Regions from separate parts of the Homo sapiens genome. Here all the other regions are linked to region 2. Evidence: promoter capture Hi-C in human tissues and cell types (Jung and others, 2019). All regions are on one chromosome and are shown on one strand. The core of a region is centred on a gene start or on the middle of the fragment in contact, and the rest is flanking DNA. Distances in the headings are between cores, read along the strand shown.

What was found. The method cuts DNA at HindIII sites, captures the fragments that hold promoters and counts their contacts. A contact is called where the count stands out against the background at its distance.
Region 1: a contact is called between the fragment with the promoter of POLR3K here and the fragment with the promoter of CAPN15 in region 2, in 2 of the 25 tissues and cell types used here (heart right ventricle and lymphoblastoid cells).
Region 3: the fragment with the promoter of NPRL3 here is called in contact with the fragment with the promoter of CAPN15 in region 2 in 2 of the 25 tissues and cell types used here (dorsolateral prefrontal cortex and lymphoblastoid cells).
Region 4: a contact is called between a fragment that was not itself captured here and the fragment with the promoter of CAPN15 in region 2, in 1 of the 25 tissues and cell types used here (lymphoblastoid cells).
Region 5: the fragment with the promoter of LUC7L here is called in contact with the fragment with the promoter of CAPN15 in region 2 in 5 of the 25 tissues and cell types used here (bladder, dorsolateral prefrontal cortex, lymphoblastoid cells and 2 more).

Annotation. Positions count from the first base shown.
Region 1 is chr16:49,674-54,857 of GRCh38, reverse strand. It overlaps POLR3K (RNA polymerase III subunit K), which reads left to right and starts at 1,250. Exons shown (of 3, transcript NM_016310.5): 1 at 1,250-1,382; 2 at 3,213-3,300. The coding sequence starts at 1,272. SNRNP25 (small nuclear ribonucleoprotein U11/U12 subunit 25) reads right to left here and starts at 1,030. Exons shown (of 5, transcript NM_024571.4): 1 at 800-1,030. The coding sequence starts at 841. RefSeq lists silencers at 680-779, 920-1,239 and enhancers at 1,570-1,729, 1,458-1,984. The HindIII fragment of the contact is 23,499 bases long and covers 1-5,184 here.
Region 2 is chr16:525,249-530,027 of GRCh38, reverse strand. CAPN15 (calpain 15) reads right to left here and starts at 2,316. Exons shown (of 14, transcript NM_005632.3): 1 at 1,999-2,316. It overlaps LINC00235 (long intergenic non-protein coding RNA 235), which reads left to right and starts at 2,621. Exons shown (of 1, transcript NR_024121.1): 1 at 2,621-3,181. RefSeq lists an enhancer at 3,196-3,757. The HindIII fragment of the contact is 8,144 bases long and covers 1-3,341 here.
Region 3 is chr16:137,271-141,805 of GRCh38, reverse strand. It overlaps NPRL3 (NPR3 like, GATOR1 complex subunit), which reads left to right and starts at 3,133. Exons shown (of 14, transcript NM_001077350.3): 1 at 3,133-3,164; 2 at 3,472-3,656. The coding sequence starts at 3,539. RefSeq lists an enhancer at 3,204-3,253 and a silencer at 3,474-3,703. The HindIII fragment of the contact is 17,392 bases long and covers 1-4,535 here.
Region 4 is chr16:191,784-196,284 of GRCh38, reverse strand. It overlaps LUC7L (LUC7 like), which reads left to right. Exons shown (of 10, transcript NM_201412.3): 7 at 3,270-3,358. Among named protein-coding and RNA genes, the nearest start is that of HBQ1, 14 kb to the right of the region's middle. The HindIII fragment of the contact is 8,652 bases long and covers 1-4,501 here.
Region 5 is chr16:226,440-231,656 of GRCh38, reverse strand. LUC7L (LUC7 like) reads left to right here and starts at 2,208. Exons shown (of 10, transcript NM_201412.3): 1 at 2,208-2,378; 2 at 4,321-4,415. The coding sequence starts at 2,318. It also overlaps the pseudogene C4orf46P1. RefSeq lists an enhancer at 1,836-2,532 and a silencer at 2,365-2,594. The HindIII fragment of the contact is 19,974 bases long and covers 1-5,217 here.

The DNA of each region.
Region 1 (5,184 bases), core at 1-2,500, 470 kb after region 2:
AATACAAAAAATTAGCCGGGCGTGGTGGCGCGTGCCTGTAGTGAACCCGGGAGGGGGAGGTTGCAGTGAGTCGAGATGGCACCACTACACTCCAGCCTGGCAACGGACCAAGACTCAGTCTCAAATAAATAAATAAATAAATAAAAAGACAGTATCGTCCCAAAGCATGATACTGACGCTTTGACACATGATTGACGCTTGAGGCAAATGGAACAATCAGTACTACTAATCTTGCTCTTATTTAAAACTAAATTTTTCTTTTACCGTAGGCTCTTTTTTTGCCTCAACTTTGACTTTTAAAGGTATTACAGGCCAGGCGGGTGGCTCACACCTAAATCCCAGCATTTTGGGAGGCCGAGGCAGGAGGATCGCCTGAGCCCAGGAGTTTCAGATCAGCCTGGGCAACATAGTGAGACTCCCTCTGTACAAAATATTTAAAAATTAGCCGGGTGTGGTAGCGCGCACCTGTGGTCCCAATTACTCGGGAGGCTGAGGTGGGAGGACGCCGCTGCACTCCAGCCCGGGCAACGCAGCAAGACCCTGTCCCCCGAGCCCCCTAAATACAATTACATTAAAATGTCATTTGATGTCACTCACTAATGAGGTTTTTGGTTCCTCTTTAAGCTTCGCGCCCCAGGCGAGTGCGCCCGGTCAAGGTTAAAACCCTCGTTTACGCCCAGAGGCGCCTTCCTCAGCCTTGGGCCGCAGTCTCCCACCAGCACCTTCGGAGGCTGCCGGCGCCCGGATGCCCGGACCCCGGGGAACGACTCCCGCGCCCCCAGCCCCCGCCCGCACACACCTGGATCGGCAGATCGCAGAGCAGCGGGTCCTGCACCACCATAGCCAGACCCTCCTGGAACACGTCCATGGCCTCGGAGTGCGGCAGCGCCTCTTCTTCGTCCTCATCTTCCTCTTGCGCCTCGGGCCCACCCGCGGCCTCCGTCTCCTCCAGGGCCGCCCCTCTCAGCCGGGCTCTGCCCGCACTGCCAGCCCGCACTAGGGAGGCCAAGCGCGCACGCGCAGGAACTGCGGCCCGCCCCAGCGAGGCCGCCCAGCCACTGGCGCGCCGGGGGGGGTGGGGCGGCTGCAGTGACCAATGACAAGTGCGAGACAGCCTGCAGCAGGGCCGGGAGCGCAGAATCGCCCTGTCTATTGGTTGGTTGGTGTGGCGGGAAGGCTGCCAGGACCAATGTGAGCTCGAGGCGGGCGGCGCATCGGCGCTGAGCGGCAGTGGGAGCTGCCGGGAGTTGGAGCCTGCGGAGTTCGAGACCATGCTGCTGTTCTGCCCCGGCTGCGGGAACGGGCTGATCGTGGAGGAGGGACAACGCTGCCACCGCTTCGCCTGCAACACGTGCCCCTACGTGCACAACATCACCCGCAAGGTGGGACCCGAAGGCCGGCGCTGGGCGCGGGCGACTCTCGCAGGCCTTCCGCGTCCTCCGACTGCTGCTCCATCGCCGCCAGCCCCGGCGTCTGCCTCTGTCCGCTCTTTCTCGCGCCCCTTTCTGGTCTGCAGCAGATCTGTGGGCTCTACTTTCCAATACACTCAGAAAGCCCCACCGTTTCCCACCGCCTTGGGTTCCTGCTCCCACGCTCGCGCCCTTCTCTGCGTTCACAGCGGCGGCCACGGTGATTTCCTTAAAGCTGAGGCACGCAGGTCCGTGCTGTGCGCAGAAACCTTCGGCTCTTCTCCAGCTCACGCAGACGAAAAGCCGGAGTTCTCCCAGGGCCTACCAGGTTCCGACACTGACTCCCTCCCCTGCGTGCGTCTCCGATTTCAAGTCCTAATGCCCTTCCTGTTGCCCTTTGCCGCATCAACACCGCCTCCTGGACGATCTCTCATCGTGCTCATGGTGCTAGCAGGGCCTTTGCACTTGCTGTTGCTCAGTTCACTCTTCCCCTAGATCGCCACCTTACTCATTGGTCTTGTCTTTACCGTATTTTAAATTTCAGCCCCTCCTTCCAATTTATTCTCCTTCCCTTTGTAATTGTTTCCATAGGGCTTATTACCTTCTAATATATTATGTAATGTATTGTGTGCTTTCTTTATTTTTTTTTATTGTTTTTTTTTTTTTTTTTTTTTTTTTTTTTTGAGACGGAGTCCCGCTCTGTCGCCCAGGCTGGAGTGCAGTGGCGCGATCTCGGCTCACTGCAAGCTCTGCCTCCCGGGTTCACGCCACTCTCCTGCCTCAGCCTCCCAATTAGCTGGGACTACAGGCGTCCGCCACCACCCCTGGCTGATTTTTTTGTATTTTTAGTAGAGATGGGGTTTCACCGTGTGTTAGCCAGGACGGTCTCCTGACCTCGTGATCTGCCCGCCTCGGCCTCCCAAAGTGCTGGGATTACAGGCGTGAGCCACCGCGCCCGACCTTTTTTTTTTTTTTTTTTTTTTTTTTTTTTTTTTTTTTTTTGAGACAGAGTCTCGCTCTGTTTCCCAGGCTGGAGTGCAATGGCGTAATCTCGGCTCACTGCAACCTCTGCCTCCCGGGTTCAAGCAATTCTTCTGCCTCGGCTTCCCGAGTAGCTGGAATTACAGGCGCCTGCCACCATCCCCGGCTAATTTTTGTATTTTTAGTAAAGACGGGGTTTCACCGCGCTGGCCAGGCTGGTCTCGAACTCCCAACCTCAGGTGATCCGCTTGCCTTGGCCTCCCAAAGTGCTGGGATTATAGGCGTGAGCCACCACGCCTGGCCAGAATACCTTTACTTTTTAGCAGTTAGAATATGTTGGTGCTACGTCAGTCTTAATGTTTGCATGCTACTCCAGTTTGTACTGTGTTGTGGGAGTTTGGAGTTTGAAACTACGGGAAGAGTGAACTCTTTGTTTTTTTTTTTTTTTGAGATGGAGTCTTGCTCCGTAGCCCAGGCTGGAGTGCAGTGGTGTGATCTCGGCTCACTGCAAGCTCCGCCTCCCAGGTTCACACCATTCTCCTGCCTCAGCCTCCTGAGTAGCTGGGACTACAGGCGCCCGCCAACACGCCGGGCTAATTTTTTGTATTTTTAGTAGAGACAGGGTTTCACCGTGTTAGCCAGGATGGTCTCGATCTCTTGACCTCGTGATCCGCCCGTCTTGGCCTCCCAAAGTGCTGGGATTACAGGTGTCAGCCACCACGCCCAGCCGAGTGAACTCTTATGTAATCCTGAAATTTAAGGTTTGGCAGCCCAGGTTTGCGCTATTCAGTTACTTGGAGTCTGAAGTGTTGTTTTTGTTAGGTAACAAATCGGAAGTACCCAAAACTGAAAGAAGTGGATGATGTGCTTGGTGGAGCAGCTGCCTGGGAGAATGTTGACTCTACTGCAGGTAAGAGGGAAAACTGTTTCTGTTGCTAAACTGTGGATAATTATGAGGCTGTTGATGCCACTGCTTGGCAGAGTCTATGATGTCATATAAATGATGTAGGTTTCTAAAAATAGAAAATGGTTCTTGAATAATTTATTTGTATTTGTTACTGTTTAATAATCTGTCAGACAAGCAATATTTGTGCCAGCCTTGGAGTCATACAGGCCCGGGTCAGATTCTCAGGGCAACCTTGTATTGTTGTAGGACCTTCCTTGGGTCTCTTGACTTCTCTGGGGCTAATCCATATTCGTAGACCGCGAGAGCATAAAGTGAATTATACCGTGCTTGGTATATAAGAGGCACTCAACAGGTGATAGCTTTGATAATGGCAATGATGAGTAGATTAATAAAAATAAGAGTCTAAGGAAAAAAGTATGTTCTTTCTGTTTGATATGGTTTGGCTGTGTCTCCACCCTAATCTCATCTTGAATTATAGTTTCCGTAATCCCCAGGTGTCCTGGGAGGGGCCCAGTGGGAGGTAATTGAATCATGGGAGCGGTTTCCCCCCATGCTGTTCTCCTGATAGTGAGTGAGTTCTCACAAGATCAGATCGTTTTATAAGCGTTTGCGTTTCCCCTGCTCGCACTCATTCTGTCTCCTGCTGCTCTGTGAAGAGGTTCCTTTCGCCATGATTGTAGGTTTCCTGAGGCATCCCCAGCCACGCAGAACTGTGAGTAAATTAGACCTCTTTTCTTGGCTGGGTGTCGTGGCTCACGCCTGTAAATCCCAGCAGTTTGGGAGGCCAAGGTAGGCAGATCACTTGAGGTCAGGAGTTCCAGACCAGCCTGGCCCGCATGGTGAAACCCTGTCTCTATTAAAGATAAAATAATTAGCCGGGTGTGGTGGCGCTCGCCTGTAGACCCAACTGCTCAGGAGGCTGAGGTACGAGAATTGCTTGAACCCAGGAGGCAGAGGTTGCAGTGAGCCGAGATCACACTACTGCACTCTAGCCTCGGTGACAAGAGTGAGACTCTGTCTCAAAACAAACAAAACCCCTTTTGTCTATATAAATTACCCAGTCTCAGGTATTCATAGCAGTGTGAGAACGGACTAATACACGCTTCTAATATAGATTTTTAGAAGTTAATACCAGTGAGCATTAAACTGCAGATTGGGTAAAATACATGTTTATTGCATGTCTGGTAGACATAGATGTGGCCAGGAGAGGAAAGGGGAAGACGTAAATGTAAGTTATATTGAGAGGTGAGAGAGATAACTGATGGTTAGTACTGTGGTTTTCCCCCTATAAAAGAACATATAGGCTGGGTGTGGTGGCTCACGCCTGCAATCTCAGCACTTTGGGAGGCCGAGGCGGGCGGATCACCTGAGGTCAGGAGTTCGAGACCAGCCTGGCTAACACGGTGAAACCCCATTTCTGCTAAAAATACAAAAAATTAGCCAGGCGTGGTGGCAGCACCTGTAATCCCAGCTACTCGGGAGGCTGAGACAGGAGAATCGCTTGAACCCGGGAAGTGGAGGTTGCAGTGAGCCAAGATTGCATCATTGCACTCCAGCCTGGGCAACAAGAACGAAACTCTGTCAAAAAAAAGAACATACAAATCTGCTATGTGAAAAAGTTAGCAGCTGGCACGGTGGCTCACACCTATAATCCCAGCATTTTGGGAGGCCAATGTGGGCGGATCACGAGGTCAAGACATCGAGACCATCCTGGCCAACATGGTGAAACCCCGTCTCCACTAAAAATACAAAAAGTAGCTGAGCGTGGTGGTGCCTGCCTGTAATCCCAGCTACTTGGGAGGCTGAGACAGGAGAATCGCTTGAACCTGTGAGGCGGAGGTTGTAGTGAGCTGAGATCGTGCTATTGCACTCTAGCCCAGGCAACAG
Region 2 (4,779 bases), core at 1,067-3,566:
AACAAGTCCCACTGGGCTTCTGGGCACTCCTGCTGTGCCAGGGGTCAGAGGGCAGGACCAGAGGGACAGAGCAGGAAAACAGGAGAGCAAAGCGCACGAGGCAGCCCCCGGGTTGGGGGCCTCCTTCTTCTGTGTCTTATGAGGAAACCACCCAAGCCCACCCTCCGTGTCTCCTGTCATTTCAGCCTCACGGTCCAGGGCCGAGTGGCCACCCAGGACAGACACAGACCTGACAAGTCACCAGCCTTCCTGGGTTTCTGTCACTGTTTTTCAAAGACCCCAAGCTGTTTTGTTTAATGATGTCGTCCTCCTTCTCAGCACCTGTCCACGCCTGTTGCCATGAGTAGAGGCATCACACCGCGGGCCAGAGGGCTGGACCAGGGGCAACTCGGCCACCAACGGCCGAGTTCTTCACTGAGCGGCTCAGGCCCATGAACAACACCTGTGGTTCCGGAGGATTTTCCGGGCAGCAGAATCCTTCCCTCCAATTGCCTCGTGTGAACTGGTGGAACCAGCAGGAGGGAGAGACCAGGCGCTCAGCCTCCCTCGGCCCCTCCCCTGCCATGAACAGCTGTCTCCAGCTTCGGTTCCTCACCTGTGGCACTGGGGTTACCGGAGTGCTGCCCAAGGCCAGGGCAAGAAGCAAGTGAGGGGTGCCCGGAGAGAGAGCCAGCAGGGCTTGAGGCTGTCACACAGATGCAGCATTACAGGGGACCAGCCACTTCCTGCTCTCAGAGACCACGGTCTGTGGAGGCCCAGACAAGAGGCCCTGCGCAGTTATGCAGTTACTGAGCCTCGGGCTCTCCTGGGGACTCAGAGGTCACTGGCTCCTCTGCCAATCAAGGAGCTCTGGAGAGCCTCAGACACAGACAGAAGCAGGAAAAAGAGGGGTGCTCCTCCCGCAAGCAGAAGGACCTCGGAGGAGGCAAGGCACACCCAACCCAAGGCCAGGCCAAGCTGGTTTCCTGCAGGACCTGCCTCCCCCAGACAGGCCAGAAAAACAATTTCTCTTGCCCCACTTCACAGTTGAGAAGTCACTCAGAACCGGAAGGGAGAATCACCCCTATATCCTTGCCCAGCCCCAGACTCTGGAAACGCGGAGGCAATTACGGGGCACTCCCACACTGAACTGTGACTCACGTTTCCGCACCCCTCAGACCTGGGCAGAGGAAGAGATCCGGGTTTCCCGAAGGAGAAGCACACAACTCTTCAGCACCCAACGGAGTCCCAGTCTTCCCCACTGGCCCCACACACCCAGGCCTGGCCTCAGGTTCTGGGCCTCACCATTGCTTTCCGGGTCTTGTTACCTGCAGTCCGGTAACAAACTCCAGAGCAGTAAGGGGGCCCCGAGAGCTCGCCCGGCCAGGGCCAGCTGACCACACAAGAGTTCCCCCGGTCAGGACTAGAGGGGCCCCTTCTGCAGCCAGCGGGAGGACAGCAGATTTGCAACTTCCCAGCTGGTGCCGCAGCAGCCCCAGAGGAACACGGAAGAGAACACTGGCATGGCTGGCACAGACGGGGCTCCCGCCAGCCCCTCCACGCCAGGTGGCCGCCCCCAGGCCGTTCCCCAAGTGAGGGGAGTGATGCCCGCACCAAGCACAACATCCCTAAGGCGGCCAGGACCGCACGATGGGCCCGGATATAAGGGCACTCAAGGGCAGGCAGGGCCGAGGCCGCCTCCGGTGTGCGCGGCCCCCGGGGCTGGCCTCAAGTGACCCACATGGCCCAGGTCCCTGCCGACTTCCCGCCTTCCTCTGGGTTCCTCTGCGAAGCATCGCCCAGCCCTGGCCCCCACCAGCCTGGAGGCGCCAGCGGGCGGCGGGCTGACCCCACTCCGGGGGCCCTGCCGTCCCTGCCCTGGCTCGGAGCCCGGCGCGCCCGGCCCCCGAGGCCTCCTGCGCCCCGCCGAGCCCGCGCTCCCCGCCGCCCTCCGGGCCCGCGCTCCCCGCCCGGGGTCCCCGGCTGGGCGCCCGGCCGGGCCCGGCCGACGGGACTCACCTCCACAGCCCGGCGGCGCCGCCTCGTCCTCGCGGCCCGGGCAGCGCGGCCCCGGCCCCCGGGCCCGCTCGCCCCCGCCGGCCGATCCACAACTTCTGCCTCCGGAGAGCGGCGGGGCCCCTCTCGCCGCCGGCCGCGCTGCCCGGACGGCCTCCCGCTCCTCAGCCGCGGGGCGCCCCGACCCGGCTCCGGCCCCGGCCCCTGCCCGCGTCCGGCGCCCGCCTTACGCTGCCTTCGTAGCGTAGCGCCCGGCCCGGGCCCCGCGGCTACGGCGCGCCCGGGGCGCACGCGGCGCTGTGAATCGCGCGCCCGGACTACGGCTCCCACAGGGCTGCGCGGCGCCGACGGGGCGGAAGCTCGGGGCGGTGCCTGCGCGAGGCAGGCCGGGAGTTGTAGTCCTCGGGTGGCGCCCTCCCAGTCCGCCGACCGCCCGGGCCACTTCTCCTGCCCTCGCTGCTGGAGACGGCCGGGCCCGAGGCCTCGGTCCCCGGGAGGCGCCGCGCTCCAGGATTATCAGGGAGTGGGGCGGCCCGAGGAGGAGCTGGAACTACAACTCCCAGAGGGCCTTGCGAGGGGCACGGAGGGGCGGGGCCTGCAGCCGCGGCGTCTGCGCATCAGCGGCGTCACAGACGCGTGGGGCTCGCGGGGAGCCGGGCTGGGGCCGTCCGTGTCCCGCGGGGCTCTGGGCGGCCGCTCGACCGAGGACCCACGACTCCGCCCCGACCCCGCCGTGTTCGCGAGACCCGGAGACCCCTTCGCGCCTTCCAGGACCGCCCCTTTCGCGACGCTGCGTGCTGTGCTTGGTCCTGGCGGCCAAGAGCGGCGGTGGCAAGGGGACCGCCCTGGCCCGAGACGCGGCCTGGCCTCGCAGCGTCGCTTGGGCACAGCCTCTCTAGGCCCCTTCGTCCTCGGTCGCGGAGGGACGCCATTAAACGGCCACGCCGGGCTCAACTGGGACGCGGCCCACGGCGCCCAACCAGGGCCTGGGGGAGGGAAGCCGGGGCGACTCCTGGGTCCTTCCAGGACCCTTGCGCAGGCCTCATTCTCTCCCCGGAGGTCCCCTTCCCGCTGCCCTGAGGCCACTCTCCTGCCAGCAGCTGCTGGGCCGGCTCTCGGGAGAATGCCTTGGCGTCAAGCTTATCAGGCTGCAGGGCGGGACGCGAGTGCTGAGGGCAGCCAGACTCCCGCTCTTAGGTGCACTTGAGGAGCCTGAGAAGGCAGTGGCTCTGCGGGAGAGGGAGACACAGGAGCAGGGCTGGTCCGCCGAGATTCCGGAGAGACGGTTGTGGGCCGATTCTGTGGCGAGATTTACAAGTGGGAGGTTGGGTGACGATTGCTCCTGGGCCAGAAAATCTAAGCCAGTCTCAGCAAGACCTACAAGGCCAGGGCCAGTGCTCCTCAGAGGATATTCATGCTCCAGGAAAGCCAAGGATGGGCCTCCGTCATGCTGAGATGCCGCAGCAGGGACACCTGTGTCCCACGTGGAGCTCGGCTTCTAGCTGCAGTCAGTGCAGAAGCTGGCAGGAGGGGTTTATTTCTGTCCTCGGAAGCTTTTGGTAAGGACACTTCATTCCTGTGTCTTGGACACCTCCCCCTAGGTCTGCTGCCCCCTCTGTGGAGACAGGCAGGGCAGCTGGATGTGCCGTTTGTTCCCAGACTATATCCATGCCAAAGCATCCCAAGGGCAGGAAATGTGTCCCCGGGGGCCAGTGGGGGTCTGGGGGCACAGAGGGCTGCAGAGTGAGAGCTGGCTCTCCTCTCTGCAACTTGGACAAGGCTCTGGGACCCTGTCCTCCCCAGCTTCCTCACCTGCATGGCAGGATACTGGCCAAGTGTGGCTTTCGAACCACAGGAGAGGGTGCAGTCAAGGCCTCACTCAGGGACCGCAGGTTCTCTTCCCTTCCCAGTCCTTCCCTGGCACTGCCTAGGTGGCTCCCTGGCCAGGGGCCAGTGGTCTAGCCAGCAGGCCTTATAACCTCCCCACCAGAGAGGCAGCTGCAGTTGAACCTGTTGATCTGATGCTGAGGGCCCTGCCAGCTCACTGCAGAGTGGCCAGTTCTGGCCAGTTTTGCTAGGCCAGGCCCATTTGGGGTGAGGAGAGGGTGGGAGCACCCCAGCTCTCCCCAGTAGCCTGTCATGGTGAAGGAGGAAGCCCATTCACCCAGAAGAGGGCCTCAGGAGGCGTCTTCAAGGTGACTGAGGTTTCCCCGCACAAGGAGAGTGCTGGAGGGAATGGGTGCGATGAGAGAAATGAGTCACTCGTGCCTCCGTGAGGCCAGCCTGTGATTGTCTTGAAGATTCTGAGTCACAAGACATCAGGCACACAGGCGTGAATTGTAAATGACTGCACAGCAGAAGGTAAGTGACTCTGGATTATCCAGACCATTGACCGAGCCCTGCTCCGTGCCAGTGCTTCCTGGCCTGAGGACACGACTCTCACATCCAGACAGACCTGAGCAGCTAACGCAAGTGCGCAGAAGCTCGCCAAGTGCCCAGAAGAGCCAAGAGGCGAGCCATGAATCCCCCCTGGAGGAGAAGAGGATGGGGAGGGCCAAACAGAAAGAACTGAAACTGGAGGCATCTGTTCAGGCACCCAGAGAAAGCCTCACGCGCACAAAGCAGCAAACAGAACAAACCCCAGTGCCATCATGGAGCCCAGACTTGAGCACACAGGGACCCTGGCGTGGAGCACGAGGGTGCCAAGGCCCGCAGGTGGCTGACTTGTGTGCTCTGGTGCCATGCTCAGATTTGATGGGATGACCCTGCAATTGCCTGCTTTGT
Region 3 (4,535 bases), core at 1,884-4,383, 390 kb after region 2:
GTGCCACTGCACTCCAGCCTGGGCGACAGAGCAAGACTCCATCTCAAAAAAAAAAAAAAAATTAGCCTGGTGTGGTGGCGGGCACCTGTAGTCCCAGCTACTTGGGAGGCTGAGGCAGGAGAATGATGTGAACCTGGTAGGTGGAGCTTGCAGTGAACTGAGATTGTGCCACTGCCCTCCAGCCTGGGTGATAGAGCGAGACTCTGTCTCAAAAAAAAAAAAAAAATGTTATGCAGCCCTGTGCAAGAAAACGCACCTGTTGGTACTGTTGAGCCATTTCAAATGCACGTACCCTTCACCCTGGTGAGGCCAATCCACAAATTTGTTCTGCAAAATACACATTAGTGTCAGTGTTGGTGCAAGAGGGTTACTTGCAACAGTGAAAATGCTCATCCCTCAGTCAAGTGGTTAGGTTCTGATGCATTTGATGTGCTTGGGAAAGTTCTGGAAGCAGCCAAAGAAGCTCATTACCTTTAGTTACCTCCTGGGGAAGCCTGGGATAGGGTAGGTGGGGTGATTTTTTAAAAAACAACTTCATTGAGATATAATTTACCATACCATACCAATTTGCATACCATAAAGCTTATCCACTTCAAGTGTACACTTCCATATCTTTTTTTTGTTTTTGAGATGGAGTCTCGCTCTGTCGCCCAGGCTGGAGTGCAATGGTGCGATCTTGGCTCACTGCAAGCTCCGCCTCCCGGGTTCACACCATTCTCCTGCCTCAGCCTCCTGAGTATCTGGGACTACAGGCGCCCGCACCATGTCCAGCTAATTTTTTGTATTTTTAGTAGACACGGGGTTTCACTGTCTTAGCCAGGATGGTCTCGATCTCCTGACCTCGCGATCCGCCTGCCTTGGCCTCCCAAAGCGCTGGGATTACAGGCATGAGCCACTGCGCCCGGCACTTCCATGTCTTTTAGTGTATTCGCGTTCTCAGAGCTGTCCAACCATTACCACAGTCAACGTTAGAACATTTTCATCACTCCCCTTCAAAAAACCCATGAATCGCTCCATATTTCCCCTGACCCCCTGGAAGCCCTAGGCAGCCACTAATCATTCTGTCTCTATGGATTTGCCTATTCTGGGCATCTTATATAAATGGAATCATATATTAGTGTGTCTTCAAGATGGATTCATGTGCCGTACTTCATTCCTTTTTATGGCTGAATAGTATTCCCTTAAACAAACTATACCATATTCACCCATTCATCAATTGATATACCCTAGGATTGCTTCCACTTTGGGCTATTATGAATAATATTACTAAGAACACACATGTTTTTGTGTGGACATATGCTTTCATTTCTCTTGGCTATATATCTAAAAGGGGGATTTGCCGAGTGTTGTGTTAACTCTAACCTTTCAGGAACTGCCAGCCTGTTTTCCATAGCGAGTGTAGCCTCTTACATTCCCACCAGCAGGAGAGAGATTCCCGTTTCTCCACACCCCTGCTGACGCTTGTCTTTTTGATTACAGCCATCGTAGGAGGTGTGATGTGGCATCTATTTGTAGTTTTGATTTGCATCTCCCTAATGCCTAATAATGTTGAGCATTTTTAATTTCTGTTTTGCCCAGGCTGGTCTGGAGTTCCTGGCCTCTCAGCGCTGGGGTCACAGGCGTAAGCCTCTACCAGTTGAGCTGAGCATCTTCTGGTGCTTATTGGCCATTTGCATAATGCACTGGAAAAATATTCATATCCTTTGTGCATTTTTCAATTGTCTTTTTATTGTTGAGTTGTAAGTTTCCTCCATTCTAGATACAATTCCCTTATCAGATATGTAACTTACAAATATTTTCTCCCGTTCTGTGGGTGGACTTTTAATTTTCTTGATGGTGTCCTTTAAAGCACCGAAGTTTTTGTTTTGTTTTGAGATGGAGTCTCGCTCTGTCGCCAGGCCAGAGTTCAGTGGCACGATCTCGGCTCACTGCAACCTCCGCCTCCCGGCTTCAAGCGATTCTCCTGCCTCAGCCTCCCGAGTAGCTGGGATTAGAAGCAGGCGCCGCCAAACCCAGCTAATTTTTGTATTTTTAGTAGAGAGACGGGGTTTTACCATGTTGGCCAGGATGGTCTAGATCTCCTGATCTCATGATCTGCCCACCTCGGCCTCCCAAAGTGCTGGGATTTCAGGCGTGAGCCACCGCGCCCGGCCGCAGTAAAGTTTTTAATCTGATGAAGTTTAATTTATTCTTCTGTAGTCGCTCCTGCCTTTAGTGTCACTGCCTCGCCCAAGGTCTCAAAGATCTCCTGTCGGCTTCCAAGTGTTTTTTTTTTTTTTTTTTTTTTTTGAGACGGAGTCTCGCTCTGTCGCCTAGGCTGTAGTGCAGTGGCGCAATCTCGGCTCACCGCAAGCTCCGCCTCCCGGGTTCAAGCGATTTTCCTGTCTCAGCCTCCCGAGTAGCTGGGATTACAGGCGCCCGCCACCACGCCCGGCTAATTTTTTTTTTTTTTTTTGTAGAGACGGGGTTTCACCATGTTGGCCAGGATGGTCTCGAACTCCTGACCTCGTGATTCACCCGCCTCGGCCTCCCAAAGTGCTGGGATTACAGGCGTGAGCCACCGCGCCCGGCCTTTTTTTTTTCTTTTTTCTTTCTTTCTTTCTTTTTTTTTTTTTTGATACGGGGTCTCGTCGCTCTGTCGCCCAGGGTGGAGTGCAATGGCGTGATCTTGGCTCAATGCAACCTCCGCCTCCCGGGTTCAAGCGATTCTCCTCTAGGATTACGGGCGCCTGCCACCACGCCCGGATAATTTCTTCTAATTTTTAGTAGAGATGGGGTTTCACTATGTTAGCTAGGATGGTCTCGATCTCCTGACCTCGTGATCCGCCCGCCTCGGCCTCCCAAAATGCTGGGATTACAGGCGTGAGCCACCGCGCCCCGCCCAAGTGTTATTTGTAAAACGAAGAAACCAACATCGAGAGGGACGCTGACTCGACCCCGCGCCTTTCCCATCCGCACCAGCAAGAGGGGCCCCTGTGCCCCAAACGCGAACCGTACGGCTCCAGACAGCACCGCGGAACTCGGTGGCTTCCAGAAGGCCCCGCGCCTGCGCATTCCGCTGCCTGCGCCTGCGCCTGCGCCTGCGCCGTTCTCCCGGCCGCCGCCTTAGCACCTCCTCCGGACGGTGTCGCCGAAGTCTCGCGAGCCCGGAGCGTGGCACGTGGGTTGGTAACTGTGGCGCTGCTCCGCGTCCACCACCACCCCTGTCCTCCTCAGGCCCCCTCCGCCTCCACCCCTGCCCTCCTCAGGCCCCCTCCGCCTCCACCCCTGCCCTACTCAGGCCCCCTCCGCCTCCACCCCTGCCCTCCTCAGGCCCCCTCCGCCTCCACCCCTGCCCTCCTCAGGCCCCCTCCGCCTCCACCCCTGCCCTCCTCAGGCCCCCTCCGCCTCCACCCCTGCCCTCCTCAGGCCCCCTGCGTCCCCGCCTCGTCCTCCTCAGGCCCCCTCCGCCTCCGGCTCCGTCCTCCTCAGGCCCCCTCCGCCTCCGGCTCCGTCCTCCTCTGGCCCCCTCCGCCCCCGGCCCCGGCCCCACGGCGGGATGCGGGACAACACCAGCCCCATCAGCGTGATTCTGGTGAGCTCGGGGAGCAGGGGCAATAAGCTGCTGTTCAGGTACCCCTTCCAGAGAAGCCAGGAGCACCCGGCGTCCCAGACAAGTAAGTGAGCGCTGGGCGGGGGCCTGGCGCTCGCGGGGGCCGCCTCATTCCGGGGTCGCCTCATTCCAGGGCCGCCTCGCGGAGCTTAGCTTTTGCTGGGCATTCGAGATCTGCTCGTTGTAGAGTATTTGAAAAGTAGAAAAAGGAAAAAAAAAATTAAAATCATGCATTGTTCACCACACCAAAGCAACTACTGCTGACATTTCATCAGTCTCCAGCCTTTAAAAAATAAAGTAAAATAAAATAAAATGAGTTTGGGATGTATTCATCATGAGAAAATACAAAATTACACGAACAAGGCCGGTGGCGGTAATCCCAGCACTTTGGGAGGCCGAGGCGGGTGGATCACCTGAGGTCAGGAGTTCGAGACCAGCCTGGCCAACATGGTTGAAACTCTGTCTCTACTGAAAAAATAAAAATAAAAAAAAACAAATTAGCCGAGCGTGGTGGTGCGTGCCCATAATCCTAGCTACTTGGGAGGCTGAGGCAGGAGAATTGCTTGAACCCGGGAGGCGGAGGTTTCAGTGAACCGAGATCGCGCCACTGGATTCCAGCCTGGGCAACAGAGCAAGACTCCGTCTCAAAAAAAAAAAAAAAAGTTACGTGAACATCTGAAGTTGTCTTTGCCACCCCCAGTTCTAGCAAGCACAGGGATCACCCCTGGCCGTGTTGGGAGTTGTCTGCCCTGTGCATAGATGCAGATCTATCCACAGGAAAAGGGAACGTCGCGTGAGGTTTTTCATCGCACGAATTGTTCTGTGGCGCCCTTTTCCCATAGTCGGCCTTGGAGCTCCGTCTGCCTTTGCAAGCAGGGATCAACCTCACCCTTGGCTGCAGGCTGCTGCCTTCCCCTGTGGACGGCATGTAGGTTACTTTTGA
Region 4 (4,501 bases), core at 1,825-4,324, 330 kb after region 2:
AGGCGTGCACCACCATGCCTGGCTCATTTTTGTGTTTTTAGTAGAGATGGGGTTTCACCGTGTTGCTCAGGCTGATCTCGAACTCCTGAGCTCAGGTGATCCACCTGTCTCGGCCTCCCAAAGTGCTGGGATTACAGGCGTGGGCCACAGTGCTTGGCCCTAATGTAGTATTTTTTTTTTAATATCTGCAATCTTTTATTTCCTTAATGTGTATCTCTGCATTAGAAATGTGAATATTGTGAAATGTTTTTCCCTTCTACCTTAAGAAGCATTAACTTGGTTAGAAAGCTTGTTTTATCATTGCAGCATAGAGTTGACCAAAACAACACAACTCGTATTACAGACTTTGATAAATAATTATTAAAGTAACAGTGCACAATGTATTTGGAAGTGCACCTCTTAATGATAGGGAGAGTGGGAGTTCTGTGCCCTAGTTAGAGGAGGCCTCACTCACAGTAGTCCCAGAGGTATCCACCTTCCTAGGCCTCCCAGAGTGCTGGGATTACACATGAGCCACTGCACCTGGCTAATCCTTAATTTTTTTAAAAACTGCCATCCTTGAGGCTGGGTGTGGTGGCTCACGCCTGTAATTCCAGTCTTTAGGAGGCCAAGGCAGGAGAATCGATTGAATCCAGGAGTTTGAGACCAGCGTGGGCAACATAAGGAGACCCTGTCTCTACCAAAAATTTAAAAATTAGCCAAGCATGGTGGTGTGTGCCTGTAGGTCCAGCTACTCAGGAGGCTGAGGTAAGAGGATTGTTTGGACCTTGGAGCTCAAGGCTGCAGTGAACTGTGATCACGACACTACACTCCAACCTAGACAACAGAGGATTTTTTTCGTTTTTTTTTTCAGAGACAGGGTCTCCCTCTGGCACCCAGGGTGGAGTGTACTGATGTGATGGTAGCTGATAGCTTATTGTCACTGTAACCTGGAACTCCTGGACTCAAGTGGCCCTGCATCCTGAGTCTCCTGAGTAGCAGAGACTACAGGCATGCACCACCATATCTGGCTCATTTTTTTTTTTTAGGTAGGAGGTCTTACTATGTTTCCCAGGCTGGTCTCAAACTCCTGTCCTCACATGATCCTCCCAGTTCAGCCTCCCAGAGTGCTGAAATGGCATGAGCCACCGTACCTGGCTTAAATGCCATCCTTAAACATCACCTTAAAGGTGTCCATCCATGTGTGCCCTGCTTCAGACACAGGATGAGCATGGGTGAAAGTTTAGAGCTGGAGATACCAGTCACCCAGCTCTGCATACTTTCCGTGCCCTTGTGGGGAGCGTGCTCTCATCCACACTGGGTATGGAAGATTATCCTTATGCCATCGTGGCTCTCTGGATGGAGAAGACTCGTGATTCTTTGTCTTACTGGCTCTGACTTGCTCCCACTCAGGGCTTCACTTGACACAGATGAGGGGCATTAAATGTCTTAGAGTTGATATTGGGAGTAGTGGGTATACAGAACGGTGCCCGGTGCTTTTCCACTCAGCTTGTGTTGACGGTATTTTCATTGGCGAGGTTTCTCATCCCCTTATATTGCTTTCTTCATCAAGCCTGATGATTCACATCATCCTGTGTTGAAAGCCAGTTGCAGAGGATTTGTGGTCCACCTCCCCTGGCCTGCTGTCCTCCAACTCAGTTTGTTCTAAAGCCAGCGTAGCACCCAGCACCCTGAGGTTGGGCTGCTTTTTGGCTGTAGGGATTCTGCTCCCAGTAGCAAGATGTGTTTGATGAGATACATCCGTCCTTTTTTACCATAAAGTTTGTACAGTCTCCTACCTATCTGGGTTGGTTTGAAACAATGTGATCAATTCCCTGTGAGTTAGAAGTATAGCACCACTTAGAATAGACAGTTTGTTACCACATTGTTAAAATCTAATGATAGGCTGGGTGGTTCAGGCCTGTAACCCCAGCACTTTGGGAGGCCAAGGCAGGAGGATTGCTTGAGTTGAGGAGTTCAAGCTCAGCCTGGGCAACATAGCAAGATTCCATCTCCATAAAAAATGTTTAAAGATTAGTCTGCCATGGTGGCACACGCCTATAGTCCCAGCTACTCAGGAGGCGGAGCTAAAGAGGCTTGCTTGAGCCTGGGAGGTCAAGGCTCCGGTGAGCTGTGATTGCGCCACTGCACTCCATCCAGCCTGGGTGGACAGAGCAAGACCCTGTTTCAAAAAAAAAAAAGTGGCCAAGCGCGGTGGCTCATGCCTATAATCCCAGCACTGTGGGAGGCCGAGGCGGGCGGATCGTGAGGTCAGGAGATCGAGACCATCCTGGCTAACATGGTGAAACTCTGTCTCTACTAAAAATACAAAAAATTAGCCGGGCGCAGTGCCGGGCGCCTGTAATCCCAGCTACTCCGGAGGCCAGGACAGGAGAATGGCGTGAACCCGGGAGGCGGAGCTTGCGGCGAGCCGAGATTGCGCCACTGCACTCCAGCCTGGGTGACAGAGCGAGACTCCGTCTCAAAAAAAAAAAAAAAGTAAATGTAAACGAGGCCGGGTGCAGTGCCTCACGCCTGTAATTGCTGCACTTTGGGAGGCCGAGGCAGGCATATCACAAGGTTAGGAGTTTGCGACAAGCCAGACCAACATGGTGAAACCCCGTCTCTACTAAACATACAAAAATTAGCCGGCCGTGCTGGCACGCTTGTAATCCCAGCTACTCAGGAGGCTGAGGCAGAAGAATCGCTTGAACCCAGGAGGCAGAGGCTTCAGTGAGCAAAGATCGCGCCACTGCACTGGGCAACAGGGCGGACTCTGTCTCAGGAAAAAAAAATGTAATGATAAAGCATTTTTTCATGTGTTATCTTCTTCATTAAGAAGTTTTAAAAATGAATGTGTTGGCCGGGCGCGGTGGCTCATGCCTGTAATCCCAGCACTTTGGGAGGCTGAGGCAGGCGGGTCACAAGGTCAAGAGATCAAGACCATCCTGGCCAACATGGTGAAACCCCATCTCTACTAAAAATACAAAAATTAGTTGGGTGTGGTGGCATGTGCCTGTAATCCCAGCTACTTGGGAGGCCGAGGCAGAAGAATAGGTTGAACTCGAGGTGGAAGTTGCAGTGAGCCGAGATCACGCCACTGCACTCCAGCCTGGTGACAGTGAGACACCGTTTCAAAGAGAAAAAAAAAAGTATTCCCATTTCCTAAAAGTGTCCCTTCAATTTTTAAATTACCAATACTGAGCTCATATAAAGGTGATTTGTTAAGTAGCATTCACACTCTGGTTTGTGTAACTTGCTCTTCCTCATTTTTTGTTTCATTTATTTAGAAAACTGTCGCTGAAAAGCAGGAGAAGAGAAATCAGGATCGCTTGAGGAGGAGAGAGGAGAGGGAACGGGAGGAGCGTCTGAGCAGGAGGTGAGCCTGAGGGCTGGCACTGGATGGCCTGCATTGGCCTCGGGCATTCCCTGCTCGGTCCATTCCACTGTTGCTTGGAATAGGCAGGGCCTGCCCAATAGGCCGTTATAAAAGAAAATAGTAAGGCCAGGCCTGGCGGCTCACGCCTGTAATCCTGTCAGTTTGGGAGGCTGAGGCGGGCAGAACACTTGAGGTCAGGGGTTCGAGACCAGCCTGGCCAACATGGTGAAACCTTGTCTCTACTAAAAATACAGAAATTAGCTGGGCGTGCTGGCATGAGCCTGTAATCCTAGCTACTCGGAGGCTGAGGTGGGAGAATCACTTGAGCCCGGGAGGCAGAGGTTGCAGTGAGCCGAGATCGTGCCACTGCACTCTAGCCTGGGCAACAGAGACTCCATCTCAACCAAAAAAAAAAAAAAAAAAAGTAAACAGCATATTCAGTCCAACAAAACAAAACAAAACACGTCCCAGCGCAGGACTGTGTGTGCATGGCAGTCAGGTAAGGGATCCAAGCTGTTGGAGGCTGTGTGTGGGCACTGCTGTTTACTTACTGAGTGCTATGGGGCCATTGGACACCTGTTTACGCAGGAGGGGTGGTGCCTGCTCCCCTTTGGCAAGCGTGCTGGGCTGGAGTAGAAGCAGCAGGACCTTGGGGAGCTAGGTGGGAAAATCCAGATGGAGGAGGTGGCAGTTTAAGCCAGGTAAGGGGTGCAAGGAGTCGGGGAAAGTTCTGGGATAGAACTGATGGGATTTGCTGGTAGTGTGTGAAGCGTGCAGAGGAGGAAATGAAGCTGGTCTCCTGGTTTCTGGCCCGGAGTTGCTGCTTGGTGAGGTTGGAAGGCTGGGTGTGGTGTATTGGAGTGGGAGGAGGTGGGAAGTAGAAGATGCCTCTGGCCACACTCAGCTTGAGAGGCCATCTTGAGGTGGGGCTGTTGAGTCTGTTTGGAGTTCAAAGAGGTAGGAGCCAGAAGTATCCACATCCTCCTGGAGACAGCTCATTGTCCAGGAAGGTTCCCAAACCACTTTTCCTGAAATAATTCCTCAGTGCATAACTCAGGGCGAATGTTTATTGTGTTTGTTTTTGAGACAGGGTCTCGCTCTGTCACCAGGCTGGAGTGCAGTGGTGCGATATCGGCTCACTGC
Region 5 (5,217 bases), core at 959-3,458, 300 kb after region 2:
CGCAACAAAAATAGCATCGGTATTCTGCTTTCAGAAAAGCCAAGAAAACCAAGAAAAAATTCATTCTGAGTATATACAGAACTGCTGGACAGAGGTCATCCTATACGTGTGGTACACGTACAAATATGACATAAGAAGAAGTATGAATTATTGCAGTCATTATTAAACAACGAAGTATGCCAAATTAGTCATCAGGTTTCAAAGAATCATAGCCTTCTTTCCATAGGTCCCGCCACGTTTTAAGGAAACGTGCCTTTTCTGTACATTTGAAGGCAAGTTCTTCCACTTGAGCTGATACTGCAGATGTGGCTTCAAGAAGTTTGGTTAATGAAAAGGCTGCGTCTCCGATCTGCAGCCCCACTTCCTCCAGCGGGTCCACCGTTCGGCCGCTGCTCCTGCTCGGAACTGGCCAGCCCAAACTCACTGGGCTGCCAGGGTAAGATGCTGCAGAGGCGTCTGAAGAGGAGGGAGAAGGAGGCGGCGGGGGCGGCGAAGAAACCTGCAACTTCTCAGGGTCGGCCATGGGGAAGGGCTGGCACCGCGGAATCCGACCCGAGCAGCCCAACGGACACCCTATTTATTTATTTTAAATAGAGAGCAGGGGCCTGGCGTTCTGGCTCACAGCTGTAATCCGAGGACTTTGGGAGGCTGAGGTGGGCGGATCACCTGAGGTTAGGAGTTTAAGACCAGCCTGGCCAACATGGCGGAACCCCGTCTCTGCAAAAGTACAAAAAAAAAGTTAGTCGGGAATGATGGCGGGTGCCTGTAATCCCAGCTACTGGGGAGACTGAGACAAGAGAATCGCTTGAACCCAGGAGTCAGAGGATGCAGGAAGCCGAGATCGCGCCACTGCACTCCAGGCTGGGCGACAGAGGGAGACTCCGTCTCAAAAATAAATAAAATACGGCAGGGCGCGGTGGCTCACGCCTGTAATCTCAGCACTTTGGGAGGCCGAGGCAGGCAGATCACAAGGTCAGAAGTTCAAGACCAGCCTGGCCAATACGGTACAACACCGTGTCTACCGAAAATACAAAAATCAGCTGGGCATGGTGGCTGGCTACTTGAGGTCAAGACTTTGAGACCAGCCTGGCCAGCATGGTGAAACCCCGTCTCTACTTAACATTCAAAAATTAGCCGGAGGGGGTGGCGGGCGCCTGAAATTCCAGCTACTGGGGAGACTGAGGCAGGAGAATCGCTTCAACCCGGGAGGCGGAGCTTACAGTGAGCCGAGATCGCGCCACAGCATTCCAGCCTGGGTGACAGAGCAAGACTCCGTCTCAAAAAAAAAATAAACAAATAAAAAATAAAGACCGGGCGTGGTGGCTCATGCCTGTAATCCCAGCACTTTGGGAGGTTGAGGCAGGAGAATCGCTTGAACCCAGGAGGCGGAGGTTGCGGAGAGCCAAGATCGCGCCATTGCACTCTAGCCTGGGCGAAACTCCGTCTCAAAAATAAATAAATAAATAATAGAGGTTTAATATAATAGAAGTATATGCCAGACTATGCACACATAAGTGCATGCTATAATTCTATTATCACATAAAATAACTGCTTACATATGCCTTTTCTTTAGTCCCTGGGACAGTAGACCATGAGCTCACAAAAGGACGACCACGAGGTTGTAATCATAGAACCTAATATTAATGCCATGACTGATGGCCAAACGTGGTGGTTCACACCAGTAATCCCAATACTTTGCCGGGCTGAGGCGGGAGGATAAGGAGCCGGGGAGGTCGAGGCTGCAGTGAGCGGTAATCGCGCCACTGCATTCCAGCCTGGGCGACGGAGCAAGACCCTCGCTCTAAATAAATAAATAAATAAATAAATAAAATTCCATGCTTTATTTAACTTTCACAAAAATCATATGAGGGGCACCTTTAGAACCCTCATTTCACAGATTTAAAAAAACGAGCGTCGGGGAGCTAAATAATATGCTCACGGTTTCATGGCTAGCTTAGAAAAAGCACGGATTCATCTTGTTTTTGATTGACTGTATTTCATTTTATTGTAGTTTACCCTCCGTAGAGACTCGTTTGAGGTCCTGGGGGTCTAGAGTAAAATCAGGGTTGGGATTTTGGTTCCGCCGTTGGACAACTTGCGACCACTCAGAGCCTCAGCCTCCCTAAGCACCCACCCCAGAAACTACATTTCCCAGCAGGGCGTGCGCCGGCGCCGTCGTACTTCCTCCCGGCGTCCCCCGCGGCGGGAAAGAGCCGAGTGGGCTCGAGGCCGACGCGACCATCGTTTGTCGACGCCGCTGCCACCGCCTGCCTGAGAGAAGTCGTCGCGGCCGACCCCGTCGCCTCCGCCGGCTACCATGTCCGCCCAGGCGCAGATGCGGGCCCTGCTGGACCAGCTCATGGGCACGGCTCGGGACGGTGAGTCAGAGCGGCCAACCAGGCGAGGGTCTGGGGTGGGAGTGAGGCGAGGCCGCCGGGCGGCCTGAGGCGGGGGCCGCGATCGTCTGCGCCTGCGCCTGCGCGGGGCATCGCTCCTCCTCCCCCGCGCTCCGACCGCAGGCGCCGGGCCTTTGTCTAAGCCGGTGCGTCTCTGAGGCGGCCGTGGGTCCAGGTCGGGCTCCTCTCTCGGAGTCTGCGCCATGGATGGGGCTTCAGCCTCCTTCCTATGTACCGTCCTGCTACTTCCTCCCCGGCGGGCGCCGCGGCTCCGTGCCCCTCCGCGAACTGTGGAGTCGGCGGAGGGCTGGAATCAGCGTGGGCTCCAGGTCGCTGGCAGCCGGGTGGCAGAACTCTTCCGAGGCTCCTTGGGAAGAAGCTACACCCGAGGGAGCCGGATGGGCCTCGAAAACCTGGCCCGCTCTGGTTCTGTACCATTGCAAGGGGAACCGTAAACTGAGCTTTTCTAACGTGGGTTTCTGCCAAGTACTTTTCCAGCTGCCCCCTTCCCCCCAGCACACAGGAGAGCCTCTGTGTAGCCAGCGCTTGACAGTCGTTAGGTAGGTTGTACTGTGTAGGGAGGAGCTCAAGATCATGATGGTTGTCACAGGAGAAAGCGGTTGCATCTTTGCAAAACTATATACCTGCTGTGGTTTGTGTTTTCTTTTCTGCTGAGTAATGAAGTTGTAAGTTCACACTGGCACATTCTCAGGGCTGTGCAGATTATTTGCACTTTATTTCATAGGTGAATAAGTGCTTTTTAGCTTTCTTTGTATATTGAGTTGCTTTTGAATTGCTTCCCATATTTTTATTTCATACAAACTGAACAATTGTGGCCCCTCTATTTTATTTATAAAGGTTCAGTGTATCTTTGCCTGCCTACATCAATCTGCAAGGGAGTTGCAGAAAGCCTCATGTTCATCGAGCCGTGAGTCACAACCAATTTCTAAGCTGTTATAACAAAAAAGTGTTTGCTTTTTTTCACAAGTAACTTTAAAAGTGTAGTTTAGAAAGAAAACATTTTCAATAAAAAGACACTACATTAATCCTGGATGCTTGCAAATCCTAAAATATATTCCTCCTCTAGCGTTGCACAGCTCTGTGTTGTATACACAGACTAGCTTTAAAATTTGTCACATACCACTTTACCTTTACTTTTATGTATCATTCCCCCGACTTCCTTACTGCAGGTGTGGGCAAGAAAACTTTTCCTTTAACACTTTTCAACAGCGGGCATAAAATTCTGCAGCTGAGGTCTTGAAGAATGCAGATGGGTACAGTATGTGTTGGAGCTCACAGTGTGTATTGACTAACCTAGTTCCTTTTTTGCTTTTTTTGGTATTGTCTTGTTAAAAGTGACTCCCAGGTAGCAACTCTCTTTTTTAAGGGTGGGAACGAAAGGGACGTAGGAAGAATAGATCTAGATTATTTAACAGTCTTCGATAGAGTTTGAAAGCTTTCTTCTTCATTCAATTTTGGGCAAAATACTGCCTCTGCATTTGTTCATAACAAAAAGATTAGATTAATAAGTAGCTTTTGTTGGTGGAAATTACCAGCTCTATAAGTCACCCTTGGTGGTTCATGGACCTCTGATTAGCTTGGGTTTTGCAGTCTCATTGCCACATGTATATGTGGAGCCAATGGCCTTTTGGTGCTCAGCTGTTTACGTCTGACTCCTTGACTTCTTTGGTACAGTGATGGAGTCAGATCTCATTAAGTGTGATTCTCCATGATATAACTAGCCTCAAAAAAATGTGTATTCCACTCCAGTTGTAAATATCTTTAGATCAGCTTTTCATTGCATTTGATGGGGAGAACACAGAAATGATAGTCTGCAAATCATCCAGGTGAATTGTTATACTAGTTATTTTTTGGTGGTTAATGTGATAATATTGTCTTATTTAAAACCACAAATGAATTTCAGGAGACGAAACCAGACAGAGGGTCAAGTTTACAGATGACCGTGTCTGCAAGAGTCACCTTCTGGACTGCTGCCCCCATGACATCCTGGCTGGGACGGTAGGTGCATTTTGGGGGACCTCATGGAACACTCTGACATGAGTGCTGTATAGGCAGTGACGGTTTTTCTATGTTGAATTTTGTTTTAACTTAAGTCTCTTTTTCTCTAAGTGGCTTAATTATGGCAGGTGTTCCTCCACTCGTATGTATGTTTGCATGCATGCATGCGATGGAGTGTCACTCTGTGTTGCCCAGGCTGAAGTGCAGTGGTGTGATCACAGCTCACTGCAGCCTTGAACTCCTGGGCTCCAGCAATCCTACCACCTCAGCCTCTTGAGCAGCTGGTACTACAGGCATGAGCCACTGCTCCTTTCTCAATCCTCCACTCTTCAACAGGCAGAAATCCCTGATGCCCTTAAAATGATAGATTCTATTCATTTGGTAGGATTTTATATTATGGAACAAATTTCACTGTTGTAAAATTCTGTCTGTAAAGTTACCAGATTTTTTGTAAAGTCATTTATACTGAGATATTCACAACTAAATAGGGCAAGTATTCTAATTTGGCTGTAGCAAAAAATATGCTTTAGGTCAGCCTGAAGTTCTTTGAAGATTCTGCGTGGGTTTGTTTGACCTCAAGTTGGTTGTGTGGAAAACTTTTGATCTAGCAAGGTACATTTTCTTCCCGCAATTTTTTGGTTTTTAAAAATCAGTTGAGGATACATTGATTTTGTAGTTTTGTGTTGTGCCACCCCTTCAAGAAATCAACATGCTATCTAATGAATATAGAACCCTACAATTTTAAGTTCACTTCAGATGAACAAAACAGATAAACGCTAGCTTTGTATAATGTGCATTTATT